3 separate regions of the Homo sapiens genome follow, and all the other regions are linked to region 2. Evidence: promoter capture Hi-C in 16 types of primary human blood cells and fetal thymus (Javierre and others, 2016). All regions are on one chromosome and are shown on one strand. Each heading gives the region's core, a stretch centred on a gene start or on the middle of the fragment in contact. The rest is flanking DNA. Distances are from core to core; before and after follow the strand shown.

Region 1 (3,394 bases), core at 310-2,809, 4.1 Mb after region 2:
GAAACCCCATCTTTACTAAAAATACAAAAATTAGCTGGGTGTGGTGGTGCGCGCCTGTAGTCCCAGCTACTTGGGAGACTGAGGCAAGAGAATCGCTTGGAGTTGGAGGTTGCAGTGAGCCGAGATTGCGCCGCTGCACTCCAGCCTGGTGACAGAGCGAGACTCTGTCTCAAAAAAAAAAAAAAATTTCTCTTCCCCCAGTATCCACCCTTTCCCCTTTAAGTACTGAAGCCCTCAAAATCATCTTTGGAGATAGGCATATACCTGCCTCCCTGGCATGCATCCTTTACTATGGCAAATAAACCTCCTAAAATGATTGAGACTTGCCTTGATCGTGTTCTTTGATTTACAGAGTCAAGGTGGGGGCTGGTTAGATCAGATCTCTCTCAGTCATAATTTTCTCACTGTTACAATTTTTGCAAAAGAAGTTTCAAGACCTCAAGAGATGAAGTGAGAGGCATAAGTTGACAATTGTCAGGGTCCCATCCTTTCCCGCCATGGCAGATTGTTCAGAGATTCTGTTGCCTTGTTTTCCTGAAATTTTTTTTTTTTGGAGACGAAGTCTTGCTCTTGTCCCCCAGACTGGAGTGCAATGGCACACTCTTGGCTCACTGCAACCTCCGCCTCCCAGGTTCAAGCAATTCTCCTGCCTCAGCCTTCCAAGTAGCTGGGATTACAGGTGCCTGCCCCCACGCCCAGCTAATTTTTGTATGTTTAGTAGAGACGGGATTTTGCCATGTTGGCCAGGCTGGTTTCGAACTCGTGACCTCAGGTGATCCACCTGCCTCGGCCTCCCAAAATGCTGGGATTATAGGCATGAACCACCACACCCGACCTTCCTGAATTTTTCAAAGAGCAAGTTGGTGAGCCCAAATTGCACACTGTGATCAGAGGGCAAAAAAATTTCTTTGCAAAAGAAATAAAGAAGTGAACCATTTTACAAAACCAAATAATCATTCATCTAAAAGCTTCTTTCATTCATTTGACTGATTTTTTTTTCAATATAATCTACTTAATGGGAAAGTAGGAGGAGGCAGGAATGCATAAAGTTCTGTTCAGTTGGAAATCAGTTTAAAACTCAATGTATCTTCTTGCAGTCACTTAGGCCCAACTCCAGTCTGTTGTTTATAGCAGCAATCTCCAACCTTTTTGGCACCAGGGACTGGTTTCATGGAAGACAATTTTTCCATGGACTGGGGAGGGAATGGTTTCAGGATGAAACTGTTTCACTTCAGATCAGCAGGCATTAGATGGAGCCTGCAACCTAGATCCCTCGCCTGCATGGTTCATGATAGGGCTCGTGTTCCTATGAGAATCTAATGCCGCTGTTGGTCTGGCAGGAGGTGGAGATCAGGTGGTAATGCTCACTTGCCTGCTGCTCACCTCCTGCTGTGTGGCTGGGTTCCTAACAGGCCATGGACCTGTACCAGTCTGTGGCCCAGAGGTTGGGGACCCCTGCTCTACAGTACAGCCAAAGTGATCTTTTCCACATACAACCTTGTTCGTGTCTACTACCTTCCTCTGCCCCACCCCTGAAGATATTTAAATGGCTTTTGATGACACTTAGGATAAAGCATAAAATATTTAATATGGTATACAAAAATCTGCATAGACTAGACCCTACCTGCCTCCTCAGTCTCACCATGCCCCTCCTAGTCATACTGGCCTCATCTTAGGTCTTCCATCGAGCAGTACTCCTTTTTTGCCTCAGGGAATTTGCACATGCTATTCCAATCATACCTTCCCAACAGTACCCCAAAGTCTTAACTCATTTCAGCATTAACTCAAAAGTCCAAGTTCAAAGTCTGATCTGAGACAAGGCAAGTCTCTTTCACCTACAAGCCTGTAAAATCAAAAACAAGTTAGTTACTTCCAAGATACAATGGGGGTACAGGCATTGGGTAAATGTTCTCATTCCACATGGGAGAAATTGGCCAAAACAAAGGGGCCACAGGCCCCATGCAAGTCTGAAACCTGGTTGGGCAGTCATTAAATATTAAACCTCTTAAATACTCTCCTTTGACTCCATGTCTCACATCCAGTGCATGCTGATTGAAGAGGTGAGCTCCTAAGGCTTTGGGCAGCTCTTGCCATGTGGCTCTGCAGGGTACAGTCCCAAAGGCTGCTTTCATGGGCTGGAGTTGAGTGCCTGAAGCTTTTCCAGGTCCAGGGTGCAAGCTGTTGGTGGATCTACCATTCTGGGGTCTGGAGGACAGTGGCCCTATTCTCAGATCCACTAGGTATTGCCCCAGTGGGGACTCTGTGTGGATGCTCCAACCCCACATTTCCCTTTTGCACTGCACTAGTAGGGGTTCTCCATGAGGGCTCCGCCCATGCAGCAGACTTCTGACTGGACATCCAGTCATTTCCATACATCCTCTGAAATCTAGGCATAGGTTTCTAAACCTCAACTCTTGGCTTCTGCACACTTGCAGGCCCAACACCACATAAAAGCTGCCAGGGCTTGGGGCTTGTACCCTCTGAAGCAATGGCCCAAGCTGTACCTTGGCCCCTTTTAGCCATGAGGTGGAGTGGCTGGGACACAGGGCACCATGTCTTGAGGCTGCACACAGCAGTAGAGCCCTGGGCCTGCCTAGCCCAGGAAACTATTTTTCCCTCCTAGGCCTCTAGGTCTGTGATGGGAGGGGCTGTCCTGAAGATCTCTGAAATTCCCTGGAGACATTTTTCCCCATTGTCTCAGCTATTAACATTCAGCTCCTTGTTACTTGTGCAAATTCCTGCAGCCTGCTTGAATATCTCCCTGGAAAATGGGTCTTTGTTTTCTACTGCATGGTCAGGCTGCAAATTTTCCAAACTTTTATGCTCTGCTTCCCTTTTAAACATAAGTTCCAATTTCAGATCATCTCCTTGTGAACGCATGTGACCGTTTGCTTTCAGAAAAAGCCATGTGACATCTTGAATGCTTTGGTGCTTCGAAGTTTATTCTACCAGATACCCTAAATCATCTGTCTCAAGTTTAAAGTTCCACAGATCTCTAAGGCAGGGGCAAAATGCTGTCAGTCTCTTTGCTAAAGCATAGCAAGAGTGACCTTTGCTCCAGTTCCCAATAAGTTCTTCGTCTCCATCTAAGACCATCTCAGCCTGGACTTCATTGTCCATATCACTATCAGCATTTTGGTCAAAATCATTCAACAATTCTCTAGGAAGTTCCCAACTTTCCCACATCTTCCCCATGTCTTCTTCTGAGCCCTCCAAACTGTTCTGACCTCTGCTGTTACCCAGTTCCACACTTGCTTCAACATATTGAGGTATCTTTATAGCAGTGCCCCACTCCCAGTACCAATCTTCTGTATTAGTCCATTTTCACACTTCGATAAAGAACTACCTGAGACTGGGTAATTTATAAAGAAAAGATGTTTAATTGACTCACAGT
Region 2 (3,891 bases), core at 114-2,613:
CCTTGGTAACTTATCTTGGTGCCCACTTCTACCTAACATGGGATAAGCAGTAATCCAGAGCCAGAAGTCAGGAGATCTGAATTATTCAACAAATATTTACTGAGCACCTACTGCGGTTCTAGGTCCTGGAGATACAGAGATGAATATATTTGGTCTGTGATCTCAAGGATAGTTTATTGAGACAGATTAATAGGAAATTATGATGCAGTGTTGTAAGTGCTACGATGAGTGCTGAATCAAATCTCATATCCCAGAGTAGTCTTCATGGCGCTGTCACTAATTGAGCTGGTCACTCTAGTCAGTCACTTCTCAGGGACTTATGTGTAGCATTTCCAGCTATCAAATTCCTAAGTCCACTTACTGTATTCTACTACAGTGTGGCAGTTTTGATTGACAACTAGAAAGGAATCAAGGAGGTGAAGGGATTGGCAAAATGAATAAGGGAGTATGCTTGTTAACAAGGATTGAATGAAATTACACGAATATTGAGAATATTTTAAATGCATTCATTTTAATGAAAACTGTACTTCGAAGCATATGTTAGCAGAGGTTGTAGTGACGGCAAATTATACAAACACTTGATAGAAATTCCAGAAATTCTCCTGCCTTTTGAGAAGCAGTAGGCATATGAACTAAAGGGAGTGAAATCCACCTTAGGAAGACCTGCCAAAAAGCTGATTCTTCAAAAAAGTGTTCTCGAAATCTTAGTGTAACTGGCACCAACACCCATCCCCAATGCCTCGTTTTTTTTCCAGCAGAACTGACAAGGTACAAACGGACCCCGCCCAGCCTGGAAGGCTTCTCTAATGTTGGCAGAGTAGGTTGGACTTGTTTTTGCACAAATCGCCTTTCCCTCTTTCCCTACTCCACTTGCACTGAATATTGCACTTTCTTCCTTACTGAAGCGGGATTCCTGCCTTTTTTTTTTTTTTTTGAGACAGATTTTCGCTCTTGTTGCCCAGGCTGCAGTGCAGTGGTGTGATCTCGGCTCACTGCAACCTCCGCCTCCCGGGTTCAAGCGATTCTCCTACCTCAGCCTCCCGAGTAGCTAGGATTACAGGCGCCCGCCACCATGCCCGGCTAATTCCTGGCATTTTAAATACGATAAATTACTTCAACCTATGACCACCTCAAGCTGAATATAAGTAGCCGCAGACACCGTTTGCATGACCCAGGAACCACAAACACGGAGCGAAGGCCTGCCGGGACCACGCTGAGCTTCACTACTGGCAGCCAACTCACTTCCGGGGGTGCACTCAGCACAGCAGTGGCCCAACCCGCCCTCAACCGGAAGTCTTTTGGGCTCCGGCTTCGCCGTCGCCCCGCCCCCTGGCCTTTGCCCCGGTCGGGCGGGACTTCCTGTGTCGTATTTCCAAGGACTCCAAAGCGAGGCCGGGGACTGAAGGTGTGGGTGTCGAGCCCTCTGGCAGAGGGTTAACCTGGGTCAAATGCACGGATTCTCACCTCGTACAGTTACGCTCTCCCGCGGCACGTCCGCGAGGACTTGAAGTCCTGAGCGCTCAAGTTTGTCCGTAGGTCGAGAGAAGGCCATGGAGGTGCCGCCACCGGCACCGCGGAGCTTTCTCTGTAGAGCATTGTGCCTATTTCCCCGAGTCTTTGCTGCCGAAGCTGTGACTGCCGATTCGGAAGTCCTTGAGGAGCGTCAGAAGCGGCTTCCCTACGTCCCAGAGCCCTATTACCCGGAATCTGGATGGGACCGCCTCCGGGAGCTGTTTGGCAAAGAGTAAAAGTGCCTAGGGTGTGAAGTGGGGTAGGGGGCCGCGAAAGCGGTGTCCTGCAGCGTGGGCAGCCTGGGTCAGCCTTAGGACACCAAGGATGGTGTGCTTCATTTTTAGATTATATTTGAGGTTCTGATATTTGTAACCCAAGCTTGTATCTTTTTTCTTTCTTTTTTTTTTTTTTTTTTCCAGACAGGGTCTTGCTCTGTCGCCCAGGCTGGAGTGCTGTGGTGCTATCTCGGCTCACTGCAACCTCTGCCTCTGGGACTCAAGTGATCCTCCCACCTCAGCCTCCCGATTAATTGGGACTACAGGCGCGCACCACCACGCCCGGCTAATTTTTTTTTAATGTATTTTTTATAGACAGGGTTCTTACCATGTTGCCTAGGCTGGTCTTGAACTCTTGGACTTAGGCGATCCGCCTACCTCGGCCTCCCAAAGTGCTGGGATTACAGGCGTGAGCCACCGCGCCAGCCCAAACTCGTATTTTTCTTTCTTTTTTTTTTTTTTTTCGAGACTGAGTCGCGCTCTATCGCCCAGGCTGGAGTGCAGTGGTGCGATCTTGGCTCACTGCACTCTTCACTTCCCAGGTTCAAGCGGTTCTCCTGCCTCAGCCTCCAGAGTAGCTGGGATTACAGTTGCCCACTACCATGCCCAGCTAATTTTTGTATTTTTAGTAGAGACAGGATTTCACCATTCGCCAGGCTGGTCTGGAACTCCTGACCTCACGTGATCTGCCTGTTTCCGCCTCCCAAAGTGCTGGGATTACAGGCCTGAGCCACCGCGGCTGGACTGCGCCCGGCCTAGAAGGGCAATTATTTTATAGTAACTTAATACTTAAGACAGCTATTTGTTAGAGCAGTCTCAGGATGACATCTTGGAAGCTTCATTAGCAGTTCTAGCTTCTTATGCATTTGAGAGTAACAAATCGAATTAAATAGTAGTTTTTCCTTGTTATTTTAGATTGGCATGTGCCACCCACTGCATAGTGAACTTTCCCAGTGCGTTTTTAAAAAAACATTTATTTGTTTATTTTTAGAGCCAGGATCTTTGCTATGTTGCTATGCTGGATTTGAACTCGGGCTCAAGTCCTACCTCAGCCTCCTAAGTTAGCTGTGACTACAGGCGTGTGCTACTGTGCCCAGCCCAGTGCTTTTATTAGTACAGTCCTATCTGAGTATTTCATGAAATTATTTAGTAAAATAGAATTTAGATTTTTTGTCTTACATCCACGTTTTTATTCTTTCATACATTGCCCTAAAATCTCACGAGTTGGTGTGATTTCTAAAAGTTAACTTAAGATTTAAACGGAAATATTGGTCTCTCTATCCAACTCACAAATTCTTCCTATTTCTAGGGGTGTAATAGTCATCAAAAGCACCTTTTAAAAAACTTTTTATTGGAGTAGGAAATGCATTTCGAAAAATGTGCCTAAGTATACTGATGGATGAATTTTCACAAACTGAACATAGCTGTACCCAGCACTAAGAAAGAAATGGCAACTATTGTAACATCCCAAAAGCTCCCCTTGTGCCTTTTCCGGTCATTGTCTTTTCAGGAGTTGCCACTATCCTAATTCTAACACCATAGCTTCGTTTTGTCTGAGACTACGTTCCTTTTAATATAACTGAACTGTTTAATTCATCTGAGAATTCTACCTATGATGAAAAATGTTGTGGTGGTAGCATTTGGGTTAATTCTGATTATAGAGTCTCTTGGAGAGCAATGTCCATAAACTAATCCCAAACAACATTGTCTTTTTGATGTTGTAGTGAACAGCAGAGAATTTCAAAGGACCTTGCTAATATCTGTAAGACGGCAGCTACAGCAGGCATCATTGGCTGGGTGTATGGGGGAATACCAGCTTTTATTCATGCTAAACAACAATACATTGAGCAGAGCCAGGCAGAAATTTATCATAACCGGTTTGATGCTGTGGTATGTACTGGTGATCTAAAGAAATTTGGGGCACACTGACTTAGTAATTCACTTTACACTTAATCATTCAATTAGGTTGTGGGGATGGAGGGTTGTTTTAAGGTGTCAGAGTAAAGAAATAAAGTCTGTACTTAATAACAGTGGAAGTACTAATGTTAAAGTGCCTGCATGTTGTTTGAGAGACTACTTTGTTATCTTCAGAACAGGCATGTTT
Region 3 (3,497 bases), core at 911-3,410, 3.3 Mb after region 2:
ATCTGGTAAGGTCTCAGGTGGTGACATACTTTAAAAGCTAAAGATTAAGCCAGCTATGTGAAAAGCCAAAGGGGAGGTGAGTGACAAGAGATCCTGCTAAAGACATCAGCAGAGCCCAGACCAAGGATTATTACAGGCCACGGTTAAGAATCTGGGTTTTATTCTAACTTCTAAGGGCAATGTAATTCGCTGAAGAATTTTACATAAGGAAGAGTCACTTTTTGCTGCAGAGTGGAGAAGGGATTAGAGGGGCACAGAATAGAAAACAGAGACACAAGTCAGTCAGGAAGATACAGTAGTAGTTGAGGTGAGAAAATGTGGATGATTTGAAGTACGGTCTGATAGTGAAAGGAAAAAAGTAGACAGATTAGATGCAGAATTGACCTGACTTGCAAAGTCATTACCTGAAATTAAGAAAGAGGCAGAGAGAGGTTATAGAGTTTGGGAATTTGTCATTGGAGAACGTTAGCAGGCTCACTAGAGAAACAGAGGATCAGAGGGATCTCAAGCCCATACTGACTGAATATTCAAGAGTTTGGCCATTTTCACTTTATACGGTCATCAGTTTGTGCAGGACTTTTTCCAGCAAAGTTCAGGCCCACGGGTGCAGGTACAAAGAGGGCAAAAGGTTGACTTCATCCAGAGTAAGAGTTTTGTCAGAAAAAAGTGCAGGAAGGGACAAGAGAATTTTTCAAAGGAACGACATACATTCTGGATAAGGGGGTGCAGTGGATAGAAAATGGAAAGATCAATGCAATGGAGGTATAGATGAAGGTCAAGAATTGTCTCCCTGGTAGAAAGTGGTCAGATAGTAGGAGGCTATAATTTGTTTCTTCTGCTTGGAATGGGCATCTCCCCCTTCAGCAAACTGTTTGACCCCTAAATACATCCATCCTTTTCTGCTCCCTGACTTCCTGAACCCCAGCACCACTCCCTGAGTTTGTCACCATCTCATCCAATCAGAAAGGCCCACCTCAGCGGATCACAAGGTCAAGAGAGCGAGACCATCCTGGCCAACATGGTGAAACCCCGTCTCTACTAAAAATACAAAAATTAGCTGGGCGTGGTGGCACGCTTGTAGTCCCAGCTGCTTGGGACGCTGAGGCAGAAGAATTGCTTGAACCTGGGAGGTGGAGGTTGCAGTGAGCCAAAATCGCGCCACTGCACTCCAGCCTGGTGACAGAGCGAGACTCCGTCTCAAAAAAAGAAAAAAAAAAAAAGAGAGAAAAGAAAAAGAAAGGCCGACCTCAAACTATTCGCTCCTTGAAGCATTTATGTTCTCCCCACTGAGATCCCTCCTCCTAACAACCCTCACAGAGTGTACTACTGGTAGAATAGTTCAGGTGACCACATAGTAAGTCATTCTTTTTCCTTTCTAGGCTCCTTTGGAAAAGGTATTGTTATAAATATTCAAAAGTCTCTGGATCCTGCGACAGTATTCAGAACACAGCCCTGCACGGTGCAATCATTCAATAAATAATAACAGGGATCTCAGGCTCATGGGCCTCCAAACCTCATCCCCACTTGCTAAACCAGGGTTCACTGAAATAGAATAAAAGCGCATAATCCCTGTTCACAAAAGTCTCAGATAACTTCCATTAATCTCAAAGGTTGCCTTCAATTTCACAAATTTAATTTTAATCCCCTCTAAACGTTCAAAACACCTCTATTTAGCTAATGATGGGCAAATATAAAACAAAACAAAACAAAAATAACACCCCATGCGTGAAACAGCACTCGTAGGCTACCCTACGACGATCAAAAATCTGGATGCCACAATTCGAGAAATGCCACGCTCACTAGAAAATATAGATTTTTCTTCATAGTCTAATGCAAGGCCAGAGAGACCTGGGTTGGGGCTAAGGCAAACGGCCCCACGAGGGGTGCCACGAGAGTCAACTGGCATTGGGTTTGTACTCAGGGTCGGACCTCAGCCTGGCACCTACCTTCCTCCCCTCCAGCCCCAGCCGCAACGATCACAGGAGTGGTCGCCTCGGAGCCTGCTGCCATGGCTACCGCAAGGCGGGTTCTGCCGGAACCCAAGGCGGAGCGGAGCTGGGGTGGGGTCAGAGTAGGGGCCAAACTCCGAGACCCGAAGCTGCACCACAGGAAGGAGCCCCGGCGACTCCCGCCCGGCTCCTACGGAAACGCCGGCTCTCACGTGGAGGTCACGTGACGGATGCTGGGCGGGACCACGCAGCTTTGTTTTGATACCCCGGGTGTGGAAATACAAACACGTGGTCTGAGTTGTGGCGCTTTTTACCTAACCCGGACCTTAGCGTTCTTTATTGTAGTCTTAGCTTCGTTTCTGTTTCTCCTTTTCTAGTCAGATCCTTCCTTTCCACCTCGGCTTTTCTCCACCCTAAAGGATTGGAGTTTTAGGGGAAGGTTTGCCGCTTAGTGGGGCTCCGGCGGTGGGATGGGTCTCTGCCGTGAGCTTTCGCGAGCCGCTCTTGGCAGCCTGGAATGCGAGGCTAGCTCACGCTTCTCTTACACCTCTCTTGCCCTTCTGGTGGTAACCTGACTCCTTCTGATTTTAGTGGCTGCCGGGAAATACGAACCTCGGGCAAAGAATCCTGTGATTGCGTTCCCTGTGACTCATTTCCCGATCCAGACAAGCCAAATTGCTTGACTTTAGGTTTTCAAGGACACTAATCCACAGCTGTCAGGCTTCTGAATTTGTATACCAAAATAAACAAACAGCTGTGTGAAGAGATCAACAACCACCTTTCTTCTCGTTTACCCTGTGGTCAAATCATAATCACTGGAGATGGATCTTTGGGGCAAAAATCTTCCAACTTTACTGGACATACCTTTATTGCTCGCCTATTGGCAGGCGAAATGGGTAAAGTTTACATATATATGAATGAAATTGGCTAGTTTGGAATCTCCTCTTTGGATATGTAAGACAAAAAAGTAACAAAAATAGGTAGTACTTATTGCACGTAAGAAATGATTTTTATGAGATAATCCCCTGGGACCAACTACGCTTAAACTTTATCCTTCGCCTATAATTTCTGAAGTTACTAACTCAACAAAAATGAGAATAAGCCCAAAATAGAAGCAAGCATCAGGTTAACTGACGTCACTTAACAGGTCACTGAGTTGTTTATTAGGCACAAGATTTAACTTGGACACTTCCTCCAAACACCCCAGGGTTCCTTGCCCAACCTCCTCGAATACAGCCTCTCTGGGAGTTTCCCTCTCCCCGACTCAGCCGCGCTGGTCCCTGCCTTTTCAGCGCTACCTGCCCTCCGTCTGGGACCTGGCTCCTTTCCTCTCGCCGGTGTTTCCTCGCCACCCGCGGAGGGGAGGGCGGACCCCAGCCTCCTTGCCGCCTGCCCCGCCTCCCCGCCTCCCCGCCGGCCCGGCTCGGGCCGCGCAGGCGCACCAGGCGCGGTCCGGAGGCCGAGGGCGACCACAGCAGCCTCCGCCTCCTGCTGCTCAGGACTATTCTGCGCTGGGCTAGTCGGCGGTGACCCGGACTGCGCCCGGCA

Evidence for each region. The method cuts DNA at HindIII sites, captures the fragments that hold promoters and counts their contacts. A CHiCAGO score of 5 or more calls a contact.
Region 1: a fragment that was not itself captured here is called in contact with the fragment with the promoter of TIMMDC1 in region 2 in 1 of 17 cell types (total CD4 T cells); the score reaches 5.8 in total CD4 T cells.
Region 3: a contact is called between the fragment with the promoter of HSPBAP1 here and the fragment with the promoter of TIMMDC1 in region 2, in 1 of 17 cell types (non-activated CD4 T cells). The highest score is 5.0, in non-activated CD4 T cells.

Annotation. Positions count from the first base shown.
Region 1 is chr3:123,588,560-123,591,953 of GRCh38, forward strand. All of the region lies in intron 2 of MYLK-AS1 (MYLK antisense RNA 1), which reads left to right. Among named protein-coding and RNA genes, the nearest start is that of MYLK-AS1, 4.7 kb to the left of the region's middle. RefSeq lists a silencer at 2,269-2,469. The HindIII fragment of the contact is 1,187 bases long and covers 967-2,153 here.
Region 2 is chr3:119,497,184-119,501,074 of GRCh38, forward strand. It overlaps TIMMDC1 (translocase of inner mitochondrial membrane domain containing 1), which reads left to right and starts at 1,364. Exons shown (of 7, transcript NM_016589.4): 1 at 1,364-1,744; 2 at 3,512-3,677. The coding sequence starts at 1,551. RefSeq lists an enhancer at 1,104-1,153. The HindIII fragment of the contact is 2,873 bases long and covers 1-1,888 here.
Region 3 is chr3:122,791,671-122,795,167 of GRCh38, forward strand. It overlaps HSPBAP1 (HSPB1 associated protein 1), which reads right to left and starts at 2,161. Exons shown (of 8, transcript NM_024610.6): 1 at 1,947-2,161. The coding sequence starts at 2,010. It overlaps SLC49A4 (solute carrier family 49 member 4), which reads left to right and starts at 3,399. Exons shown (of 9, transcript NM_032839.3): 1 at 3,399-3,497. RefSeq lists a silencer at 3,236-3,497. The HindIII fragment of the contact is 6,260 bases long and covers 1-3,497 here.